Regions from separate parts of the Homo sapiens genome. Here all the other regions are linked to region 3. Evidence: promoter capture Hi-C in human tissues and cell types (Jung and others, 2019). All regions are on one chromosome and are shown on one strand. Each heading gives the region's core, a stretch centred on a gene start or on the middle of the fragment in contact. The rest is flanking DNA. Distances are from core to core; before and after follow the strand shown. Region 1 has its middle 5.9 kb from the start of MIR8061. Region 2 has its middle 6.7 kb from the start of LENG8-AS1. Region 3 holds the start of DNAAF3 (dynein axonemal assembly factor 3).

The links. Contacts are between HindIII fragments. The study calls those that stand out against the background at their distance.
Region 1: a fragment that was not itself captured here is called in contact with the fragment with the promoter of DNAAF3 in region 3 in 1 of the 25 tissues and cell types used here (lymphoblastoid cells).
Region 2: a fragment that was not itself captured here is called in contact with the fragment with the promoter of DNAAF3 in region 3 in 1 of the 25 tissues and cell types used here (dorsolateral prefrontal cortex).

The regions. Positions count from the first base shown.
Region 1 is chr19:54,649,461-54,652,928 of GRCh38, reverse strand. No RefSeq gene overlaps it. Among named protein-coding and RNA genes, the nearest start is that of MIR8061, 5.9 kb to the right of the region's middle. The HindIII fragment of the contact is 4,026 bases long and covers 39-3,468 here.
Region 2 is chr19:54,440,611-54,444,060 of GRCh38, reverse strand. No RefSeq gene overlaps it. Among named protein-coding and RNA genes, the nearest start is that of LENG8-AS1, 6.7 kb to the left of the region's middle. The HindIII fragment of the contact is 7,065 bases long and covers 1-3,450 here.
Region 3 is chr19:55,165,311-55,169,094 of GRCh38, reverse strand. It overlaps DNAAF3 (dynein axonemal assembly factor 3), which reads left to right and starts at 2,482. Exons shown (of 12, transcript NM_001256715.2): 1 at 2,482-2,572; 2 at 2,678-2,766; 3 at 3,095-3,237; 4 at 3,632-3,725. The coding sequence starts at 2,682. It overlaps DNAAF3-AS1 (DNAAF3 antisense RNA 1), which reads right to left. Exons shown (of 4, transcript XR_007067345.1): 4 at 2,191-3,276. LOC124904795 (small nucleolar RNA U13) reads right to left here and starts at 1,924; the gene lies at 1,821-1,924. RefSeq lists a silencer at 2,871-3,102. The HindIII fragment of the contact is 9,836 bases long and covers 1-3,784 here.

The sequences.
Region 1 (3,468 bases), core at 802-3,301, 520 kb after region 3:
CTTGTTAACCCCATGTAACCTTGAACAACATGAAGGCAGAGATTGGGTCCAAGTGATCTATACACCCCAGAACATGACACAGGACTGCCAGATGTGAGGTCTTTAAACTATTCATTGGTGCATGAAGTAAAGCATGACCCAGAGGACTGGTCTCAGCTCTCAGATCCATATGTATAGCTCATTCTCAAGGTCAACAACTAAACTCTAGGAGAATGTTCAGGATCAGCTGAGTAGACGATTGCTGGGGCAGCTGGGGGGATTTACAGAAGACATTTGGAAACTGCAGGGGGATGCAACATTGTTAATGGAATCAGCTGGGATGGCTATAGCTGAGACTCAGCAAACAGCCAGGAGACTGGAGCTGGGTGTCTTGAAACAGAGAAGTGACAGCAGCTGGATCACTGGAAACAACCAGGTGACTGGAACTAGGTGTCTGGAAACAGCCAGGTGATTGCAGCTGGGTTTCTAGAAGTAGCTGCAATGCCACCTCTTTGAGGTGCTGGTCAGTTGTGGAAGGAATCACCTGGTTAATGAACTTTCTAGATGCTGACTAGAGAACTTTGGGCTCTACCTCTTATCTCCAGAACAGTTGACTGGTTTTGCAGACCAGGATGATTCCAAGGGGAAGCCCTCCAGATGGCTTCTTGAGGCTTTTCCAAGCATGACTTCCTCAGGCGCAGGGGGCAGTGGTCCCGGAGTCAGTGCCTGGCGAGGGCTGTGTACATGCTAGACTCAGCCATGGGCACCATGGACTCTGGGGACACAGCCTGGGCTGTCCTCCAAGTGAAGGCCTGGTGGTCCAGCTGAGCATATGTCACCTCCAGGGGTCCCCTGCAGCAGGGGTCTGAGGACAGAGACCCGCGGTGAGGTAGGGGAGATGAGGGTGAGGGTAGGGGGTCTAGAGGGTGGCCCATTGGAGGTGAGAAGAAAATATTTGCTCAATATTACTATAATCTGCACTTATTTATGGTTTAAAAAATCTTAATGAATTAGGAATAGAATGAAACATCATAAACATGTTAAAGGATGCCCAGCAACAAATCAATAGCAAATATTATATTTAATGATGAAGCTTAGATCAATTTCCACTAAAATATGAACAAAACGAGGCTTAATGGTCTTTCCACTTTTATTCCATTTTCTACTGAGGTGTCCTAACTGATGTAATAATATCAGTAAAAGTAAAAAACTAAAAATAAGATATATGAGGGCTAGAGAGATTTTTTCATTACTTGTAGGTAGTAAGATTCTCTAAATAGAAAATTCAAAGTCCATTAGGATTTATAAGAAAATAAAAACAAATCCATATCAATGACATTTCTATACAGCAGGGGTAGTAGTTAGAGAATCGAATGGCCCCAAACTCCTGGCCTCAAGCAATCCTCCCACCTTGGCTTCTCAAAGAGCTAGGACTAACAGTCGCCGTGGAGAGCAGTTTGAGGATATCTCAAATAACTAGGAATGGAACTACCATTTGACCCAGGAGTCCTATTACTGGGTATATATCCAGGGAAAATAAATCATTCTAGTCAAGAACACACACACTTGGATGATCATTGCAGCACTATTGACAATAGAAAAGACATGGAATCAACCTCGTTGCCCATCAACAGTGAACCAAATAAAGAAAATGTGGTCCATATACACCATGGAAGACTACACAGCCATAAAAAAGAATGAACTCATGTCCTTTGCAGCAACATGGATGCAGCTGGAGGCCATTATCTTACGTAAACTAATGTAGAAACTGAACACCAAATACCACATATTCTCACTTATAAGTGGGAGCTAAATATTAGGTACACATCTTCCCATAAAGATGGCAACAGTAGACGCTGGGGACCACTGAGGGTGGAGAGGAGGGGGATGGGGCTGAAAAACTACCTGTTGGGTACCATGCTCCCTACCTGGGTGAGGGGCTCAGTCTTACTCCAAACCTCAATGCCACACAATATTCCTTGGTAACAAACCTACACATGTACCCCCAATTCTAAAATAAAAATGGAAATAGAAAAAGCAGTGTATAGGCCGGGCGCGGTGGCTCACGCCTGTAATCCCAGCACTTTGGGAGGCCCAGGCGGGTGGATCACAAGGTCAGGAGATCAAAACCATCCTGGCTAACATGGTGAAACCCTGTCTCTACTAAAAATACAAAAAATTAGCCGGGCGCCTGTAATCCCAGCTACTTTGGAGGCTGAGGCAGGAGAATGGCGTGAACCTGGGAGGCAGAGCTTGCAGTGAGCTGAGATGGTGCCACTGCCCTCCAGCCTGGTGACAGAGTGAGACTCCGTCAAAAAAAAAAAAAAAAAAAGAAAAGAAAAAAGAAAAAGAAGTGTATAAAGGTGTGGGCAAATGAGAGGGATGAAGCACCCCAGGAAGCCACTGCCACTCCCAGGATGGGAGGTCAAGGGGTGGAGAGAGCCCTGTGTGGGAGATGGGAGGTGCCTTGCGGGAGCTGATGTCATGGGTAGAGGAGCACAGTTGCTGACAAACCACAGCCTGGCAGGGCATATGTGTGGGAATTGATTCCCCGGCCTCTCTCTCCTCTCACCCTCTGCTCTCCTGACAGTGCCTCCATGGTTGAACTCAATCAGACGCTAAAGGCAAGGAGACACTGATGATGCAATCCATAGAGTCAGCCTCCAGGGCACAGACAAGGTGGGAAAGGACAGAGGGTGTATTAGGAGTTCAGCACTTTGGGAGGCTGAGGTGGGAGGATTACGAGGTTAGGAGTTCGAGACCAGCCTGGCCAACACAGTGAAACCCTGTCTCTAAAAAAAATACAAAAAATTATCTGGGTGTGGTGGTGTATACCTGTAATCCCAGCTACTCAGGAGGCTGAGGCAGGAGAATCACTTGAACCTGGGAGGTGGAGGTTGCAGTGAGCCGAGATCGTGCCATTGCACTCCAGCCTAGGTGACAGAGTAAGACTCTGTCTCAAGAAAAAAAAAAAAAAAGGAGTGGCCTGTGGGGAAACAGCAGTGCCCTCAATGTGGGGACAAAGCATCAGGAGAGACTGGGACTGCACGTCTGAGCCAGGGAGGACAACAGAGCAAATCACAGGCAAAGAGAGAAGAAGCCCAGCTGGGCCAGAGTGCATGGAAATAAGAGAGGAGGGGACACACGTGAGCAGTGCTAAGAAGGCAGAACACATGGTTGGACCTGATTAATGTTGATTGTGGGGTGAAAGAGAGAGAGAAGTGATAATGGTTCTTAAAGCTCTGGCTTGGCTAACTTAGTGCACTTTTTATCTGTTAGCTCCTCTCTTTTGTGTGTTTTTACTACTCTTTCTCATTTTAAATTATAGTAAAAAAAAAAACAAATGAAATAAAATTTACCATATTTACTCTTTCTAACTCTACAGTGCAGTATTGTGAAGTGGTTTGACATTGCTATGCAACCATCGCCATCACCATCCCCAAAGTATTTTATCTTTCCAATTGAAGCTTTATATTCAGTAAACACCAA
Region 2 (3,450 bases), core at 410-2,909, 720 kb after region 3:
TTTTAGTAGAGATGGGGCTTCACCGTGTTAGCCAGGATGGTCTCGATCTCCTGACCTCATGATCCGCCCGCTTCGGCCTCCCAAAGAGCTGGGATTACAGGCGTGAGCCACCACGCCTGGCCTAGCAGAGGGGTTTTTTTATTATTATTTTAATAAAGTCAAGCTTGTAAGTTTCTTTCATGGATCATGCCTTTGATGTATCAAAAAAATTATCACGGCTGGGCGTGGTGGCTCACAGCTGTCATCCCAGTATTTTGGGAAGCCGAGGTGAGTGGATCACTTGAGGCCAGGAGTTTGAGACCAGCCTGGCCAACGTGGCAAAACCCCATCTCTACTAAAAATACAAAAATTAGCCGGGCGTGGTGGCGCACACCTGTAATTCCAGCTACTCAGGAGGCTGAGGCATGAGAATCACTTGAACCCAGGAGGCAGAGGTTGCAGTGAGCCAAGATTCTGCCAGTGCACTCCAGCCTGGGCGACAGAGTGAGACTCTTGTCTCAAAAAAAAAAATTCACAAAACCCAGTCATGTAGGTTTTCTCCTATGTTATCTTCTAGGAGTTTTATAGATTTGCATTTAACATTCAGCTCTATGATCCATTTTGAGTTAATTTTTGTGAAGAGACTAAGGTCTGTGTATAGATTTGATTTATTTATTTTTGGCATGTTGATGTCCAGTTGTTCTAGCACCATTTGTGGAGAGAAGTTTGGAAGTTTGAGCATTTTTTATGATACCTTTTTTTTTTTTTTAGACGGAGTCTCACTGTCATGCAGGCTGGAGTGCAGTGGCACAGTCTCGACTCACTGCAGCCTACTCCTCCCAGGTTCAAGCAGTTCTACTGCCTCAGCCTCCCAAGTAGCTGGGATTACAGGCGTGCACCACCACACCCAGCTCCTTTTTGCATTTTTAGTAGAGACAGGGTTTCACTATATTGGCTAGGCTGGTCTCAAACTCCTGACCTCGGGATCTGCCTGCCTTGGCCTCCCAAAGTGCTGGGATTACAGGTGTGAGCCACCACGCCCAGCCTTATGATACTGTTCTATCTCTGCTCTGTGCCCACCACCACACCCAGCTAATTTTTGTATTTTTTGGTAGAGACGGGGTTTCACCATGTTGGCCAGGCTGGTCTCGAACTCCTGACCTCAGGTGATACGCCTGCCTCAGCCTCCCAAAATGCTGGGATTACAGGTGTGAGCCACTGCGCCTGGCCTTGTCTTCACTTTTGTTTTTTTGGTTTTTTTTTTGAGAGGGAGTCTTGCTCTGTCGCCCAGTCTGGAGTGCAGTGGCGCGATCTCGGCTCACTGCAAGCTCCGCCTCCCGGGTTCACGCCATTCTCCTGCCTCAGCCGCCCGAGTAGCTGGGAATACAGGCGTCCACCACCACGCCCGGCTAATTTTTTGTATTTTTAGTAGAGACGGGGTTTCACTGTGTTAGCCAGGATGGTCTCGATCTCCTGACCTTGTGATCCGCCCGCCTCTGCCTCCCAAAGTGCTGGGATTACAGGCGTGAGCCATCGTGCCCGGCCCACTTTTGAAAAACAGTTTCAGTGAGTATCGAATTCTAGGTTGACTACTTTTTTCTTTTGCTACTTTAAGAATTTTCTTACACTGCTTTCTCACATTGTTTCCAGTGAGAAATCTGGTGTCATCCTAATTTTTGTTCCTCTGTTTATAAAATCTTTTTGTTTTTCATCTGGCTGTTGTCAAGATTTTCTCTTTGTTACTGGTCTTAAGAAATTTGATTATGATGTATCTTGGTTTATCTTTGTGTTTCTTCTGCTTGGGGTGTGTTGAGTTTCTTGTATCTTTGGTTTTATAGTTTGTATCAAATTTGGGAAATTTGGGGTTATTATTTCTTTAAACACTCTCTCTGTTCCTTTCTTTCTCTCTCCTTATGGGCCTCCAGTTACACATATATTAAAATGTCCCACAGCTCACCAGTGTTCTTTTCATTAAAAAAAAATATATTCATTCCTTCTGGGGCAGGGCATGGTGGCTCATGCCTGTAATCCCAGCACTTTGGGAGGCCAAGGCAGTAGGATCACTTGAGCCCAGGAGTTTGAGACCACCCTGGGCAACATGGTGAGACCTCATCTCTACAGAAAATTTTTAAAGATTAGCCAAACATGGTGGTGTGCGCCTGTAGTCCCAGCTACTCGAGAGGCTAAAGTGGGAGGATCGCTTGAGCTGGAGAGGTTGAGGCTGCAGTGAGTCATGATCACGCCAGTGCACTCCAGCCTAGGTGACAGAGTGAGACCCTGTCTAAAAAGTAAAAAAAAAAAAATCATTTTTTTAAATGTTTCATTTGGACAGTTTCTAATGTTGTCTTCCAGATTTTTTTTTTTTTCCTGCAATGTCTAATCTGCTGTTCTAGGGCTGGGTGCAGTGGCTCGCACCTGTAATCCCAGCACTTTGGGAGGCCGAGGCTGGCAGATCATTTGAGGTCAGGAGTTTGAGACCAGCCTGGCCAACATGGTGAAAGCCCGTCTCTACTAAAAATACAAAAATTAGCTGGATGTGGTGGCAGGTGCCTGTAGTCTCAGCTACTTGGGAGGCTGAGGCATGAGAATTGCTTGAACCTGGGAGGTGGAAGTTGCAGTGAGCCTAGATCATGCCACTGCACTACAGCCTGGGCAACAGAGCAAGACTCTCCCCCAAAAAACAAAAATCTGCTGTTCCAGCCAGTACATTATTTATTTCAGACATTGTAATTTCTATCTGTTGATATCCAGTTTGAGTTTTTTTATATCTTCCGTATCTGTAAAGAACTTTTGGAACGTATGGAGTACAGTATAATAGTTGTTCTAATGTTCTTACCTACTAATTCTAACTCCTGGGTCCGTTTCAGTTGAATGATTTTTATCCTCATGATGTGCCCTATTTTCCTGCTTTTTGCATATTTGGTGACTTTGTTGTTGGATACTAGACAATATCAGTATTACCTTGTCGAGCACTCGTTACTTTTGTATGCCTATAAATATTCTTGAGCTTTGTTTGAGAATGCAGTCACCTTACTTGGAAGCAGCTTGATCCTTTCAGGTTTTGCTTTTAAGATTCCTCAGGCAGGACCAGAACAGTGTTTAACAGGTTAGGGCTGCTTATTCCCCACGGCTGATGTAAGACCCTCTCCGTGTTCTACCCAGTGTTCCTTCAGTTATGAGGTTCTTCTGGCAGGAACAGCGCCTTGTCAAGGCCTGTGTGAGTCCCCAGAACTCAGGCGCTATTTGCTTCAGTCCCTCCAGGTGGTTCTTTCCCTGGCATTCTAGTCTGCAGTAACAGAGGACCATGGACTGGTGGCTCAAAAACAACAAACACTTATTTCTCACAGTTCTGGAGGCTGGAAGTCCAAGATAATTTATTTTTATTTTTATTTATTTATTTTTTGAGATGGAGTCTCGCTCTGCTGCCCAGGCTGGAGTGCAATGGCGCGATCTTGGCTCACTGCAACCTTC
Region 3 (3,784 bases), core at 1,233-3,732:
TCAGGAGTTCGAGACCAGCCTGGCTAACATGGTGAAACCCCGTCTCTACTAAAAATAAAAAAGAATCGCTGGAGCTGGGCACGGTGGCTCACGCCTGTAATCCTAGCGCTTTGGGAGGCCAAGGCAGGTGGATTGCCTGAGCTCAGGAATTCGAGACCAGCCTGGGCAACACGGTGAAACCTCGTCTCTACTAAAATACAAAAAATTAGCTGGGCGTGGCAGCGTGCGCCTGTAATCCCAGCTACTTGGGAGGCTGAGGCAGGAGAATTGCTAGAACCCGGGAAGCGGAGGTTGCAGTGAGCCAAGATCGTGCCACTGCACTCCAGCCTGGGCGACAGAGCAAGACTCCGTCTCTAAAAAAAAAATAATAAATAAATAAATCGCCTGGCTCGGTGGTTCACACCTGTAATCCCAACACTTTGAGAGACCAAGGCGGGCAGATCACCTGAGGTCGTGAGTTGGAGACCAGCCTGACCAACACGGAGAAACCCTGTCTCTACAAAAAATACAAAATTAGCCGGGCGTCCTGGCGCCTGCCTGTAATCCCAGCTACTCGGGAGGCTGAGGCAGAAGAATGGCTTGAACCCGGGAGGCGGAGGTTGCGGTGAGCCGAGATCGCGCCATTGCACTCCAGCCTGGGCAACAAGAGTGAAACTCTCTCTCTCTCTCTCTCTCTCTCTCTCTCTCTATATATATATATATATATATGTATATATATGTATATTTGTATTTTATTTTGTATATATATACAAAATATTTGTATTTTATTTTGTGTATATATAAATATATATACATATATTTGTATTTTATTTTGTGTGTGTATATATATATATATACACAAAATAAAATACAAATACAAAAATTAGCTGGTGTGGTGGCAAATGCCTGTAGTCCCAGCTACCTGGGAGGCTGGGACAGGAGAATCGCTTGAACCCGGGAGGCGGAGGTTTCAGTGAGCCGAGATCGCGCCACTGCACTCCAGCCTGGGTGTCACAGCAAGACTCCATCTCAAAAAAAAAAAATGTCACTCTGGTTCCTTTGCTGAGAATTTGTTGGGAGAGTGGGAGAAATAGGGAGGAAAGGCATTAATTCTCCAGAGAGAAACCCAGGATCTGGGGCTCTTGCAGGCTTAGAGCTGGCCTGGAAGGGGCTGGTTAGCCAGCCTGATTCTGCAGGAATGTCTGAGGTCTCAACCTTCGTTTCCCCAGTAGGTATTGTCTTCCCAGTGCCCAGATCTGCCCTCAGGAGGCAGATCCGCTGCACCTCTGCCCGCTGCACGCTACATTCCCATTTCACAGAGCAGCAGACTGAGGCTCAGAAAGGGTGACTGGTCTAAGCTCATGTGTCTGGGCAAGGAGAGGAGGCAGAGAGCCAAGTCCCCTTGGGCGCTGAGCCCAGTGCTGGGTGCTGGGGTGATCTAGAGATGTGCCTCATTCAGACTTTGGTTTTTCTTTTTTTTTTTTTTGAGACAGAGTCTTGCTCTGTCGCCCAGGCTGGAGTTCAGAGGCGCGATCTCAGTTCACTGCAACCTCTGCCTCCCAGGTTCAACAGACTCTCCTGCCTCAGCCTCCGGAGTAGCTGGGATTACAGGTGCGTGCCACCACGCCCGGTTAATTTTTGTATTTTTTAAGGTCGAGGCGCGGTTTCACCATGTTGGCCAGACTGGTCTCCAACTTCTGACCTCAAGTTATCTGCCCACCTTGACCTCCCAAAGTGTTGGGATCACAGGCGTGGCCACAGCGCCCGGCCGACTTACCCTTATTTTAATGCAGTTGATTTAACTGTACGATTACAGAATTTACCTGTAATTTTTTTGTTCATGTCAGAAGAGTAATGTGCCGATGTCGTAACAAGGTTTGAGGGAGGCACATCTCACGCATGCGCGTGAACACCCAATCATCCCGCTTAGAAACTACAAAAGGATCTAGCTGTAAGTTTAAATTATGGCTTCGTGTAACAATAACCAGCTCACAAATCCCTGAATTTTTAATGACCTGCACATCAGTGTCCCACCTGTGGGCTGTTCTGTGTGGTAGAGCCCACGTTGTGCTGGGGCGGGGAGCGGGCTCAGAAGCCTGCCATCTAAAGTCTAGACACTTCACTTTATTTGAATTGATGAAAATTCCGTTACGTATGAGCAAAGGCATATGAAGAAAACAAAAAAACAAAAAACAAGAAATAAGATTAAGCTCCCTTCACTCTCAATTTTAATCAGCCCAGGCCTCCCCCATTCCAGAAATTTGGACCGACCCTGACTCCGCCCCAACCTGTTCTAGCACCGCCCCTTCCCCCGCCGGCGCCGTCGTCATGACAACCGCGTCCACACGCCCTCTTCTCCTAGGTGTGGGGGAAGGCTGGCCCTCAGTGCTCCCATTGGCCAAAAGTTTGTAGAGGGCGGGCCTCGCTCACTCTCATTGGTCAGTTGCTCGCTGTGGTCCCATCCCACATGCTTCCATTGCTTGATTCCTCGAAAAGGGCGGGGACTCTGGGCAGCGGTTGTGGAGTGCCGCGGGTCCACAGTGCTGCACTGAGCAGAGAGGAAGGGGCGTCCCGGGATATTTGGAGGATAAAGGTGTGGGCAAGGTATCATGTGGAGGCAAAGGGGCGAGAAGTGAGGGGCGGTGAGAGGGGAGCGGGGCGGGCAATGTGTGCGATTCCCAGAATGTCTTTTCCGCAGGGTGATGACCACACCTGCCGGCTCCGGCAGCGGCTTCGGCTCCGTGTCCTGGTGGGGCCTGTCCCCGGCGCTGGACCTGCAGGCTGAAAGTGAGTCCCAGCACGCAAGGTCTGATACACCGTCTGCCTTCCCAGCCTGAGCAGACGGCCTTTTAGAGCTCGTAGTCCCAGCGTCGGTGGCAAGGGGGGCGCTAACGTTCTCCAACGCTCCAGCGGCAGAGGGCGCGCTCCCAGGGGCAGCCCCGAGGTCCTGTCTGCGGACTGCGAATCCCAGAATACTCAGAGGAAACACCTCCCCTTAGAACCTAGGCCACGGGCGGAACGCCTACTGGGATTTGTAGTCCATTTTTTATAGGGGATGCTACGGTGGACGCTCTGCCAACCACCATGGTGCCCCAGCCAGCTGTCATCTTGCCAGGTCCTCCTGTGGACCCAGACTCCCAGGCCGATACAGTGCACAGCAACCCCGAGCTAGATGTGCTGCTTCTGGGCTCTGTGGATGGACGGCACCTGCTGCGGACCCTGTCCCGAGCGAAGTTCTGGCCTCGCAGGAGGTTCAACGTGAGCTGGGATGAAGATGAGAGCCCAGATTCCCGAGTCCTTGAGGGAGGAAGGGATTGAAATTCTAAAACCTCAGGTCCAGGAATGAAGGGGCTGGAGACTCCTAGATCTGAGGGAGGCAGAAGCTGGGAGCGAACCGATGCGTCTTGGGGGAAGGAAGGGGCTGGGGTTTGGAACTCCTGGGTTCTATAGTGGGGAAGAGCTCGAGGATGAGGTCTTCTGAGTAATGGAAGGGAAGAGAGCTCTGGGGACACAGACTTCTGTGTTTGAAGGAAGAGGCTGGTGTACAGAACTCGGGTGTGTGGAAGGAGAGAGCTGAGGGCCTGCTCTCCTGGGTCTCCTAGGACCCAGGCAAACAGGTCTCAGAATTATTCTGCCCTGTCCATCCTTCTAGTTCTTTGTGCTGGAGAATAATCTGGAAGCTGTGGCCCGACACATGCTGATCTTCAGCCTAGCCCTGGAGGAACCGGAGAAGATGGGGCTGCAAGGTCTGTTGCTAGGACCCAGGCATTCTGACCGCTGGTCTCCTCCCCCTCCCTAGAGGGAT